4 separate regions of the Homo sapiens genome follow, and all the other regions are linked to region 1. The links are contacts of gene promoters, found by promoter capture Hi-C in blood cells and fetal thymus (Javierre and others, 2016). All regions are on one chromosome and are shown on one strand. The core of a region is centred on a gene start or on the middle of the fragment in contact, and the rest is flanking DNA. Distances in the headings are between cores, read along the strand shown.

Region 1 (2,771 bases), core at 153-2,652:
TCTTTCACAAGTGTGCCAAGAATACACAATGGGAAATTAAATTGGACCCTTGTCTTATACCATATAAAATAACCAACCCAAAATGGATTAAAAATTTAAACATAAAACCTGAAACTACAATTTCTAGAAGAAAACATAAGGAAAAACTTTAGGACCTTCAGCTTGGCAGTAACTTGTTGGATGTAACATAAAAATACAAGCAATGACATAAAAAGCCAAGTAACAAAACCAAAATTAGACAAGTAGGGCTACGTCAAAGTCAAAATCTTCTGCACAATGAAGAAAACCATCAGCCAAACAAAAAATATTTGTAAATGATATATCTAATAGGGGATTAATATCAAAATATATAAATTCAATAGCCACAATAACAATAATCTTATTTTAAAACTGGCAAAGGACTTGAATACATTTTTTTTCCAAAGAAGACATACAAATGGCCTTCAGATGTATGAAAAGATGTTCAACATCAGTAGTCATCAGGGAAATTCAAATCTGACACATTTTAAACAGAAGCCAAAGAACTCTATTGATTCAATAAGTAGGAGCATGCAGTGCCTTATTCCGGAATCATTTACTTTTTATTATTAAGTAAATCATCATGGTGCTATTTTGAAACAGAAGATAATTGGGGCATATTCCCCTTGGGACATCTCCTTGGATTTCATCAACAGTCAATTACAAAGATATAAACAATCTAAGTTAGCCATATTCATAGAATACCTAAATCTGCATTTGCTGTTCCACAGGTAAGAGAAAATTTCAGATAATTTGAAGAATATTTCGGCAGCTAGAACCTACAATATCAAGAATAACTATGTTTTTTTTTACTAAACTTTTTAGCTGCTAAACACCAAGAACTAAACACTTCAGTTCTGGACTATTACATATGTGAATCAAGTGTATTCATCAAAATATGATTTATTTAGAGTTATGCCTAAGAATTAAAATCCAACACTTACTAGAAAACAATAAAAAATAGAAAATATTGTATTTGTACTTATAGAGATAAATAAGAGTGCTCCTAATAGAGTATATGCTTGTATTTTTCTTATAGATAAAGATAGTTCAAAGGTCATGAATTTACCAATAAATATCAACAAAGGGCAAAAAAACATTTGACTTATTCATTTATCTGGGGTCTTGTATTTTGAAGTAATAAGGAAAACAATCAATACTTATTTTAAATTTATTTTCTGGCTTTATAATCTAGAAGTCACTTCAGATTGCTACTTATTTTATGTTTCTCTAGATTTAATGGCTTAAAAAATACAAATACATCGAGAATCATGTTTTGCTTTACCTTTATTTCCCTGAGGTCAGCAGAGGGGTAAGAGGAAGAGTGTTCCAGTTGCAGAATGAAGCCATTTATGAGGCCATGAAAAAATGCAAAAATTTCATGTACAATGAGAGAAACCTGGGATTGAATCTTGGCTCTGGAAATTGTTAGCTATGAAAGTTGCTATAAAGGTGAAATAAGGTAATGTACAAGAAATGTCTGTTCTTGCAGCAAGTGCTAAATAAATGCCTGTTATTTAGCAAACTTAGTGTTTCGTTATTACATTCACGATATTTAAAGTTTTCTCCCTTCCATTAAAATTTGTTTCATAAAAATAGATTTGCATTAATTTAAAAAGTTGATTCTATATTATTAAATCTTCAAGAATCATAGTGATTTTCTCTTTATAACTCTGAATCTTTGACTATGTGCTAATATTAACTTAATTTTTACCCAATATAACTTATTTTGGCATCTAGTAGAAATGCCTGTCTCACAAGAAATTTGGTTGAAGTATCTTATTTGCACAAAGCAAAATTAAGACAATTGTAATGTAGAAAATGGAATCATGGTAATTTGCATGTTTATTTTTGGCATAAAATGATCAAGTAATTCACAAAACTTCTTCATTCTCCAAAGAATAATTCAGAGACATTTGAATGAGCAGATGAAAAAAATCATAACTGTTCATTGGATTTAATCTTGATAGAATGTAGAACCAACTTAATTCAGCATATTCTATAATCAAAATTATTTTACATATTATATTTTATTAATGCAATTTTCCTTCAATATTTACTCCAATCTTGTGAACAAACTATTAATGTTCTCATTCTATAGACAAGTAGATATAGCAAATCATTTTGCACAATTGCTACAAGTTCTAAAATTCTGGTATTGTATTCCAATGCTCTGTCCCCTGATACAGTCTCTTGTGTATTTGGATGCCCAAAGATTGTTTAAGCCACTCATTTTTGTGTGTTTTAATATTATTTAATATATAAACAGCTTAATACAATTCAGTGGTAAATTAACCAGTAGACCTGATGATTTTAGAAACAGAATAAGTCCAGCCAACTAATGAACGTCCATTTCTTCCATTTGATTCTGCAGTGAGTGGCATGAACACATGGCTGACCAGTTTGTCACTGTCTTCTGATTCACTACTAGAGAATTATGCACTGCTGAATATATGTCGTACAGTATATACAAGAGCACAGTTAACATCCCCTTGAGTCATGGTGTTGTTCATTCTTTTTGTCATAATATGAACTGTAACTTTATGCATATCTTCAAGTTTGTTCTAGATTTCAACATGAAGAATGTCACTGAAGTTACCTTATTTGTACTGAAGGGCTTCACAGACAATCTTGAACTGCAGACTATCTTCTTCTTCCTGTTTCTAGCAATCTACCTCTTCACTCTCATGGGAAATTTAGGACTGATTTTAGTGGTCATTAGGGATTCCCAGCTCCACAAACCCATGTACTAT
Region 2 (2,771 bases), core at 150-2,649, 180 kb before region 1:
CACTTTTGAATATTCATGAACGAAACAGTTATTTACTGAGAATAGCAATATATATGTATATATGTATATGTCTATGCATCTGTGTGTGTGTGTGTGTGTGTGTGTATATATATATATATATATATATATATATATATATATATGTTTTAGGAGTCTTCTATTTTACTTTGACCTAGTATATGAAAACTTAGCAATCTTTGGAAAACTACAGTTTTCATGTTTGTCTTCTGTAAGCTTTAAACATTTAGTTTGACACTTTAGCCTCGTTCTTCCATCCATCCCGGCGATTAAAGCTTAAGGAACAAACCACTACACTTGGGCAGCATAAGGATGATTAGAAATATGGGCTCTGCTGTCAGTTATACATAGTCACACTAATACTCTGTGACCATCACCAGAAAGTCGGATTTTTCCAATGTTTATAAGGAGTTATGGGTGAGAGCCTTCCTCATAGGGTAAGCAAGAGACTATCTTAATTCATGTAATGCACTCAGAATATCTGATAAGGACATCACTCAATTGCAATAGATAAAATAATAATAGTACTAATCAATGGAATATGAAAGACAAAGTGGTTAGATATGATGATCTCTCAAAGCATTTTCTAGTTAATATTTCATGATTCTATTTTTTGAAAAATAAAGCCAGGACCAAATTAAAGTTTAAATAGGCTAATATTGGGCTTAACAAGATGAATCCTCTTTTTTTCAGGGCTGGTAGAAATACAAATAATTATAATTATCCTAAAAGATGCATCAAAAACTCCACCCACCAGTATATGTTTCCATAAAACTTTTTACAACTGAATGTTTCCTTTCTCATATTTCTGATCAAATTTCTTTCCATTTCTACAGCATAAATTACTTATTCTATATAAATGTGGGAAGGAATATAGCAAATTGAATAGTTCATAGGAGCTCTAAAATTATTTTGATCTATTTTTGACATATTTTATGGAAGCACGCACAAAACCGAAAAATAAGGAAATATAAATGTGGTCACGTCTATAAATTCAATATTTTTGTTCTGTTATATATGCATGGAAAATATATAAGATTTTTAATGGCAGCAAAAACATTGAAATATTAGTGTCAGTTGTCACAAGCGGTTTCATACTATATAATTTTAACCAACATCTTCTCTTATTTTCTAAAATTACAAAGCAAAATATTTCTTAAGGTGGTCTATTTACTATTCTGCAAGTAAAAGACTCCCCTCCCTCAGGCAAGATTGGCCTCTGTCATTAGAGAGGTAAGATGTATGTTTTTGCCCACATGATGATATGATTCAAGGCAAGAAGACAACAATCATCACCTTTACCCAACACTGACAGGGAACATGAGAAGTATCTTTTTTATTTTTCAACTGCGACAAAATCTACAAAACCTGTTAGGATAAATGGCTGAAGTTAATATCATTTATGTCACTGTATTCATTCTGAAAGGAATTACCAACCGGCCAGAGCTTCAGGCCCCGTGCTTTGGGGTGTTTTTAGTTATCTATCTGGTCACAGTGCTGGGCAATCTTGGGTTGATTACTTTAATCAAGATTGATACTCGACTCCACACACCTATGTACTATTTCCTCAGCCACCTGGCCTTTGTTGACCTTTGTTACTCCTCTGCTATTACACCGAAGATGATGGTGAATTTTGTTGTGGAACGCAACACCATTCCTTTCCATGCTTGTGCAACCCAACTGGGTTGTTTTCTCACCTTCATGATCACTGAGTGTTTCCTTCTAGCCTCCATGGCCTACGATTGCTATGTCGCCATCTGTAGTCCCCTGCATTATTCAACACTGATGTCAAGAAGAGTCTGCATTCAACTGGTGGCAGTTCCATATATATACAGCTTCCTGGTTGCCCTCTTCCACACCGTTATCACTTTCCGTCTGACTTACTGTGGCCCAAACTTAATTAACCATTTCTATTGTGATGACCTCCCCTTCTTAGCTCTGTCCTGCTCAGACACACACATGAAGGAAATTCTGATATTTGCCTTTGCTGGCTTTGATATGATCTCTTCCTCTTCCATTGTCCTCACCTCCTACATCTTTATTATTGCCGCTATCCTAAGGATCCGCTCTACTCAGGGGCAACACAAAGCCATTTCCACCTGTGGCTCCCATATGGTGACTGTCACTATTTTCTATGGCACACTGATCTTTATGTACCTACAGCCCAAATCAAATCACTCCTTGGACACAGACAAGATGGCTTCTGTATTTTACACAGTGGTGATCCCCATGTTAAACCCCCTAATCTATAGTCTAAGGAACAAAGAAGTGAAAGATGCCTCAAAGAAAGCCTTGGATAAAGGTTGTGAAAACTTACAGATATTAACATTTTTAAAAATAAGAAAACTTTATTAAACAAGCAGGAAATAAATCAAACTTTTTCTTGTAATTATTTCCCAATGAACTGAAAATGTAGCTGTTACTTTAATGGACCTTGACATTTTCTGCAAGAACCAGGCAGATCATGAAAAATCAGTACGAATTAAAGCATTCAATTCAGGCCATCACAGTCTTGGCAGACCACTGAAACCACGTTCAAATACAAACAGAGACACACTCATATATGCAAACACTCATAGGTGTATTTAAAGCAAAGGCAGCAGCATGTTTTTGTTAGAGTTTGGGATGCTGAAACAAGATTGAGTTTGAACACTATTTCCTTCATATTAGCTCTGCAACCTTGGAAAATTGAGCTAAATTTTGTGTGGCTTTGTCTCCAAGTCTGGGAAATAATAGGACCTAACTCATTGCTC
Region 3 (2,771 bases), core at 130-2,629, 140 kb after region 1:
TGGTGCAAAGTAATTGATGTTTTTGCTGTTTTCTTTTTTAATGACAAAAAACTACAATTACTTTTGCAACAATCTAATACAAACAATCCAGTTATGTGATATAAGCTGGGCACAGAATGACAAAAATTGCATGTTCTTAATGTAATAATTTTAAACATGTTTCAGTGTGATGGCATGCTTATATATGCATGTTCAGGTGCCTCTTATTTCCTTGTACATGTCTATGTCTGAATAATTTATATGCCGAATTGACCTCCAAATACAGTGAGTTAGTGGTCCATATAAACAAATGAAATAATAATTCAATTCACAAACTTCAAGACTCTAAGTTCTCATTTAGTTTGTGTTATGCTTTTTGAGGTTACTCTACTATTTTCCTAGTTGTTGGCATAACTGAATTCCTGAAGCCATCCACCTTTGTTTTAATTGTAACATACATAAATTTGTCATGGAAAAAGTTTTCTATGTATGACTCTCAGAAGAGCATTTTTCACATCTTTGTTCCTCAGACTGTAGATGAGTGGATTCAGCATGGGAATGACAATCGTATAGAATACAGATGCCACCTGCGCCTGGGTCAGCGATGATGTGTTATCAGGTTGCAAATAGGTGAAAATCAGAGACCCATAAAAGATAGTTACAGCCATGAGGTGGGATGCGCAGGTGGAGAAGGCCTTCTGCCTGCCTGCTGCTGACTGGATCCTCAGGATGGCTGAGATGATGATGATATAAGTGACTGTGATGATAAGGAGAGAGCTAAGAAGAGTGAATCCAGCTAAGACAAAGCTCACCATTTCTGTGCCGAATGTATCTACACAGGAGAGTGCTAAAAGAGCTGTGGTGTCACAAAAAAAATGATTGATGCTGGAATCACAGAACGCCAAACTGCTTATCACCCAGACAGATATCAGCGAGCTTGTGAAGCCTATCACATATGGCATTACTCCCAGCCAGTTGGACACTTTTTGGGACATGACTACTGAATACAGTAAGGGATTGCAGATTGCTATGTAGCGATTGTAGGCCATTGATCCCAGAAGGAAACACTCACAACACACCAATCCAACAAAAAAGTACATTTGAACAAAGCAGCCAACAAAGGAGATGGATCTCCGATTGGATTGGAAATTCACCAATGCCTTAGGTGTTACAGTAGAGGAGTAAAATATGTCAATAAATGCTAAATTGCTCAGGAAAAAGTACATAGGGGTGTGAAGCTGAGAATCCATTCTGATTAACGTGATCAGTCCCAGGTTTCCCAAAACAGTGAATAGATAAATGAAGAGAAACATCAAGAAAAGACTGACTTGTAATTCAGGGTGATTTGCAAATCCAGAGAGGATGAAGACGGTAACCTCAGTGAAATTGTTGCCAGCCATTTACATCAACTCAGGCCTTTGACTTACCTGCTGAATAACAATAAGGAAAGTTAGAGAAGGATTCAAATCTAAAGGCCCTATAATCAAATTTGACTTAGACTCCAATCATGAAAGTTTTACAAATGGAAAGTAAAATTTAATGACCTGAAGTTAGCTAGAGATTTACGGATAATTTTTATTTTTTATAAAACTGAAAACTTACAGACATTAATACAGAAAAAAACTCAAATTCACGATTGTGTAGACTAAAAAATACATGTCTGGAAAGATGTGTAGAAATTCCTCCTAAGATGTACCATTCTCTACCCCTGTCTGTCATTGGGTCTGGCAATTTATCTAATGAAATCAATTGTATCTAACAAATATAGCAAATTATCAAATGAAATTAATTGTATCTAATGAATATAGCAACTTATCTAATGAAATCAATCTGTATCTAATAAATATAGCAAGTTATCTAACAAAATGAATTGTATCTAATGAATAGAGCAGTTTATCTAATAAAAAATTCAGTGAGATAAGACCAAATGAGGGCCTTCATCTATAACATAGTTTAAATTCTTTCATGTATGTTTGTTCAAACAACATGATTGTTTCTAGATATATTGCATATATTAATCTATGACATCAGGTGCTAGCCAATTCATTGCTGAACAGCAGTTTTTAAGACAATGATATAAATAAATGTTAAAAACAGTAAAACAAACCTGATTTGTTACATTTAAAAATAAGAATTAAATTATAAGGTGGGCATGCTAGAAACTAAAGAACTTTATTGCCTAATTAACTTAACATAAATATATGACGAATAAATGCATTTGAAACTAGCCCGCCAAGCAAAGTTAAATAATCACCTTTGTTTAGACATTTAGCACTCTCCTTGAGTAACCAAATGGGACTTGATAATAATTATTATCAATAATAATAATATAACATATTATTCTTATTATATATCACATGTACTTAATCATTTAATGTGTTCCATGGTCACAGTGTTCCTATTTATCCATTCATTTACTTGACAAGCATTTATTCAATGAAGGCATTTTGTCTTGCCTGTCATGAAGGGCATTTTTCTTAAAGCCTAATGTAAGATGCAGACATTAAAAAAATAACAAGTTTCCCAATGTGAGAAACATGCAAACTATACTCACAGACAGACAGACACACAAATTTTAGGAAAAAGCAGATGAGAAAATTAGATGTACCTGGGATTCAGTCACCCAGAGGAAACATCCTATGTTTCAGCAATCTTTCACTTATTTTCAAGTTCATTATTTTTGCCTCATCTACAATGCTAAATATCAAATAACAAAAGTTGTTATTTAGTATAGAGCTCTATTTCCTGTATAATGGACCCTAAATGTTATGATGTTGATGAAAAAATGTTGA
Region 4 (2,771 bases), core at 154-2,653, 140 kb before region 1:
AAAAAATTAGGAATTGAGAAAGAAAATGTTTAGACTATGTGTCTTTATTTTTCACGTGGGATATTGTAAATACAGCTTCAGAATCCTGAACTGGGGATGGACGGGGAGAGGAGTTAACTTTTGTCTGTGCTCTGCACATAACTAATTATATATCTTGATGATGACTTTTTATGCATTCTTCATTTGAGAAATAGGAAAATTGGTATAAAATATTATGCAAGAAAATTAATAATTTTAATATATTTTCCACTTGAAAAATAAGAGAAGTGTTGTAAATTCTTATAGTTACTTTTATACCTAACGTTCTAAGAGAAATTCTCTAGAAAATTGTATTACACAGCGAAAATATATGTATACATCACATATTGAGAAACAAGGATCCTGATAACTTATACTGGGAAAAAAATCATACCATGAAAGAAGTCCATTTTTCCTTACTCAAGTTACTTTCTTAATTTTATAAACACAAAACTCTAGTTTTTATTGATAATGATTTTCTTCAGAGCTTCTTTCACCTCCTTATTCTGGAGGCTATAGATTAAGGGATTCAACATGGGAATGATCACTGTGTAGAAGACAGAGGCCATCTTGTCTGTGTCCAGGGCATGGCTAGAGCTAGGCTGTAAGTACATAAAAATGAGGGTCCCATAGAATATGGTGACTGCCAGCATGTGAGAGCCACACGTCGAGAAAGCCTTCTGTCTTCCCTCAGCTGAATGCATCCTCAGGATGGCAGAAATGATGAACATGTAGGAGACAAAGACAATCAGAAGGGAGGAAATGAACATGATACCAGCACAGGCAAAGATCCAGAGCTGTTTGAAGCGAGTGTCTGAGCAAGTTAGCCTGAGGAGAGGCATGTCATCACAATAGAAATGGTTGACAATGTTGGAGTGGCAATAGGAGAGGCGGAAGGTGAGGATGGTGTGAAATAGTGCCATTAGGAAGCTATAGCTATAAGGAACTGCTACAAGTTGAATGCAGATTCCTGGAGTCATTACAACCATATACAATAGAGGGTTACAAATGGCCACATATCGGTCATAGGCCATGGAAGCCAGTAGCAAGGATTCTGATATCATGAAGGTGAGAAAGCAGCCCAGTTGAGTAGCACATGCATCAAAGGATATAACATTTTGTTTGTACAAGAAATTCCCAAGCATTTTGGGTGTAATGACAGAAGAGTAACAGAAATCCACAAAAGCTAGGTTGCTAAGAAAGAAGTACATTGGTGTGTTGAGACTTGTATCCGCTCTAATGAGTAGGATCAAACCCAAGTTGCCTACCACTGTGAAGAGGTAGATGGATAAGAATAGCACAAAGAGGGGCATCTTCAACTCCTGATGGTCTGTGAGGCCCACAAGAATAAACTCTGTCGCCTGGGTGCAATTGATGTGAGCCATATCTTTTCTGGCCATCTAAATGTGGAAGTAGAGAAAAGAGTTAAGTCTAAGTCATATTTTAATACTGTAAATCCTATATGTGGTGTTTTTATATTTATTGTATTGTAAAGAGTTTAATTAATTAGATTTATTTATTAATTTATTTAACTAATATAATGATTGTTAGCATACTGGAATTCTGGAAATGTGATGGAGAGCAAAAAGAATATAACACCGTATAAACATCTTTATATCTAAAGCATGAACTTACATGAATGTAGGGAATGAATCCTCACATAATCTTATCCTGTAAATTAGAGTAAAATTGATATTTGCTTTCTAAGAGATTTGGAAGTTTATGTTTCTTTACATTCAGTTTATGTCTGCTTTTTTATCTTTTATTAAAAAACTGATTTAATTACATTTTTTGCATTAATTTTTGTTTTCCTACTCTATTTAATGTTGTGTATCATCATTTTCTTATTCATTTTGGATAATTTTAAAATTGAATTATTGAATACCCAAATAGTATCAAATATCATGTCTCTCAACTCCTCTTTCTTCTCTCTCCCACCATTATATCTAGTAATGGAAAATAGAGCTTTCCTTAAAAACTTATAAATTTCACGCTTTGAAAATTACTATGCAAATAAATATATAAATAAAATAAGAGCCTGTGTTTCTTCACTGTTCTTCAGAGTTTACTAATAGCTCTTGAGTATTTACTTCTGCTCAATTAATCAAAGAATCCATTTCAGTTATTTGTGTTTTGTATTAATAAACATATTTATTGAGCAACATAATGTGGTAAGTAGTAACTTTCAAAAAATACTTATTTACCTTAATTTTATTCTAAATAAATTATATTTATTATATGTATAAGATACATATTAGATATGCAATATGTAAGTATATACTAGATATCCTAAAACCCTAATACAGATGGAACATTAATGTCTAATTATAGCAACATGGAAATTGATGGATAAGGACATAGGAACCCATAAATTCCAAATCTCTAATTGCATGTTAAAAACTGAACGTCAATTTTGAGTTAAAATAGGAAAAAGAAAAGAGAAAAGGGAGGTAAGTAAAAAGAGAATTTTTGGTCTTTGCACTGCTCAGACCAAACCCTTCTCAAGAAGACTAACTTTCAGACTCAAACTTTTTTATGACAAACTATAGAAATAAATACTTGTTATAAGATGGCATGGAACTAATAGATATATTGAGAATAATACTTTTGCTTCCCTGACATCCGCTTGTATTACATATTCTTTCGTTTTCTAGCGTAATCTGTTCCATTCTATTTAATTCAAACAATGCTTCTTGGGATCCTAAAAAGTGGATTTAAGATCTACTAGTAGTTACAAGCACAGTTTCAAAACC

What was found. The method cuts DNA at HindIII sites, captures the fragments that hold promoters and counts their contacts. A CHiCAGO score of 5 or more calls a contact.
Region 2: a contact is called between the fragment with the promoter of OR8U3 here and the fragment with the promoter of OR5T2 in region 1, in 8 of 17 cell types (neutrophils, monocytes, fetal thymus and 5 more). The highest score is 9.1, in neutrophils.
Region 3: a contact is called between the fragment with the promoter of OR8I2 here and the fragment with the promoter of OR5T2 in region 1, in 5 of 17 cell types (monocytes, non-activated CD4 T cells, neutrophils and 2 more). The highest score is 7.5, in monocytes.
Region 4: the fragment with the promoter of OR8U1 here is called in contact with the fragment with the promoter of OR5T2 in region 1 in 6 of 17 cell types (neutrophils, naive CD8 T cells, activated CD4 T cells and 3 more); the score reaches 8.6 in neutrophils.

What each region holds. Positions count from the first base shown.
Region 1 is chr11:56,232,886-56,235,656 of GRCh38, reverse strand. OR5T2 (olfactory receptor family 5 subfamily T member 2) reads left to right here and starts at 1,402. Exons shown (of 2, transcript NM_001004746.4): 1 at 1,402-1,480; 2 at 2,393-2,771. The coding sequence starts at 2,595. The HindIII fragment of the contact is 5,726 bases long and covers 1-2,771 here.
Region 2 is chr11:56,416,860-56,419,630 of GRCh38, reverse strand. OR8U3 (olfactory receptor family 8 subfamily U member 3) reads left to right here and starts at 1,399. Exons shown (of 1, transcript NM_001004744.1): 1 at 1,399-2,373. The coding sequence starts at 1,399. The coding sequence ends at 2,373. The HindIII fragment of the contact is 8,358 bases long and covers 296-2,771 here.
Region 3 is chr11:56,091,916-56,094,686 of GRCh38, reverse strand. It overlaps OR8I2 (olfactory receptor family 8 subfamily I member 2), which reads right to left and starts at 1,379. Exons shown (of 1, transcript NM_001003750.1): 1 at 447-1,379. The coding sequence starts at 1,379. The coding sequence ends at 447. The HindIII fragment of the contact is 14,451 bases long and covers 1-2,771 here.
Region 4 is chr11:56,374,256-56,377,026 of GRCh38, reverse strand. OR8U1 (olfactory receptor family 8 subfamily U member 1) reads right to left here and starts at 1,403. Exons shown (of 1, transcript NM_001005204.1): 1 at 474-1,403. The coding sequence starts at 1,403. The coding sequence ends at 474. The HindIII fragment of the contact is 6,958 bases long and covers 1-2,771 here.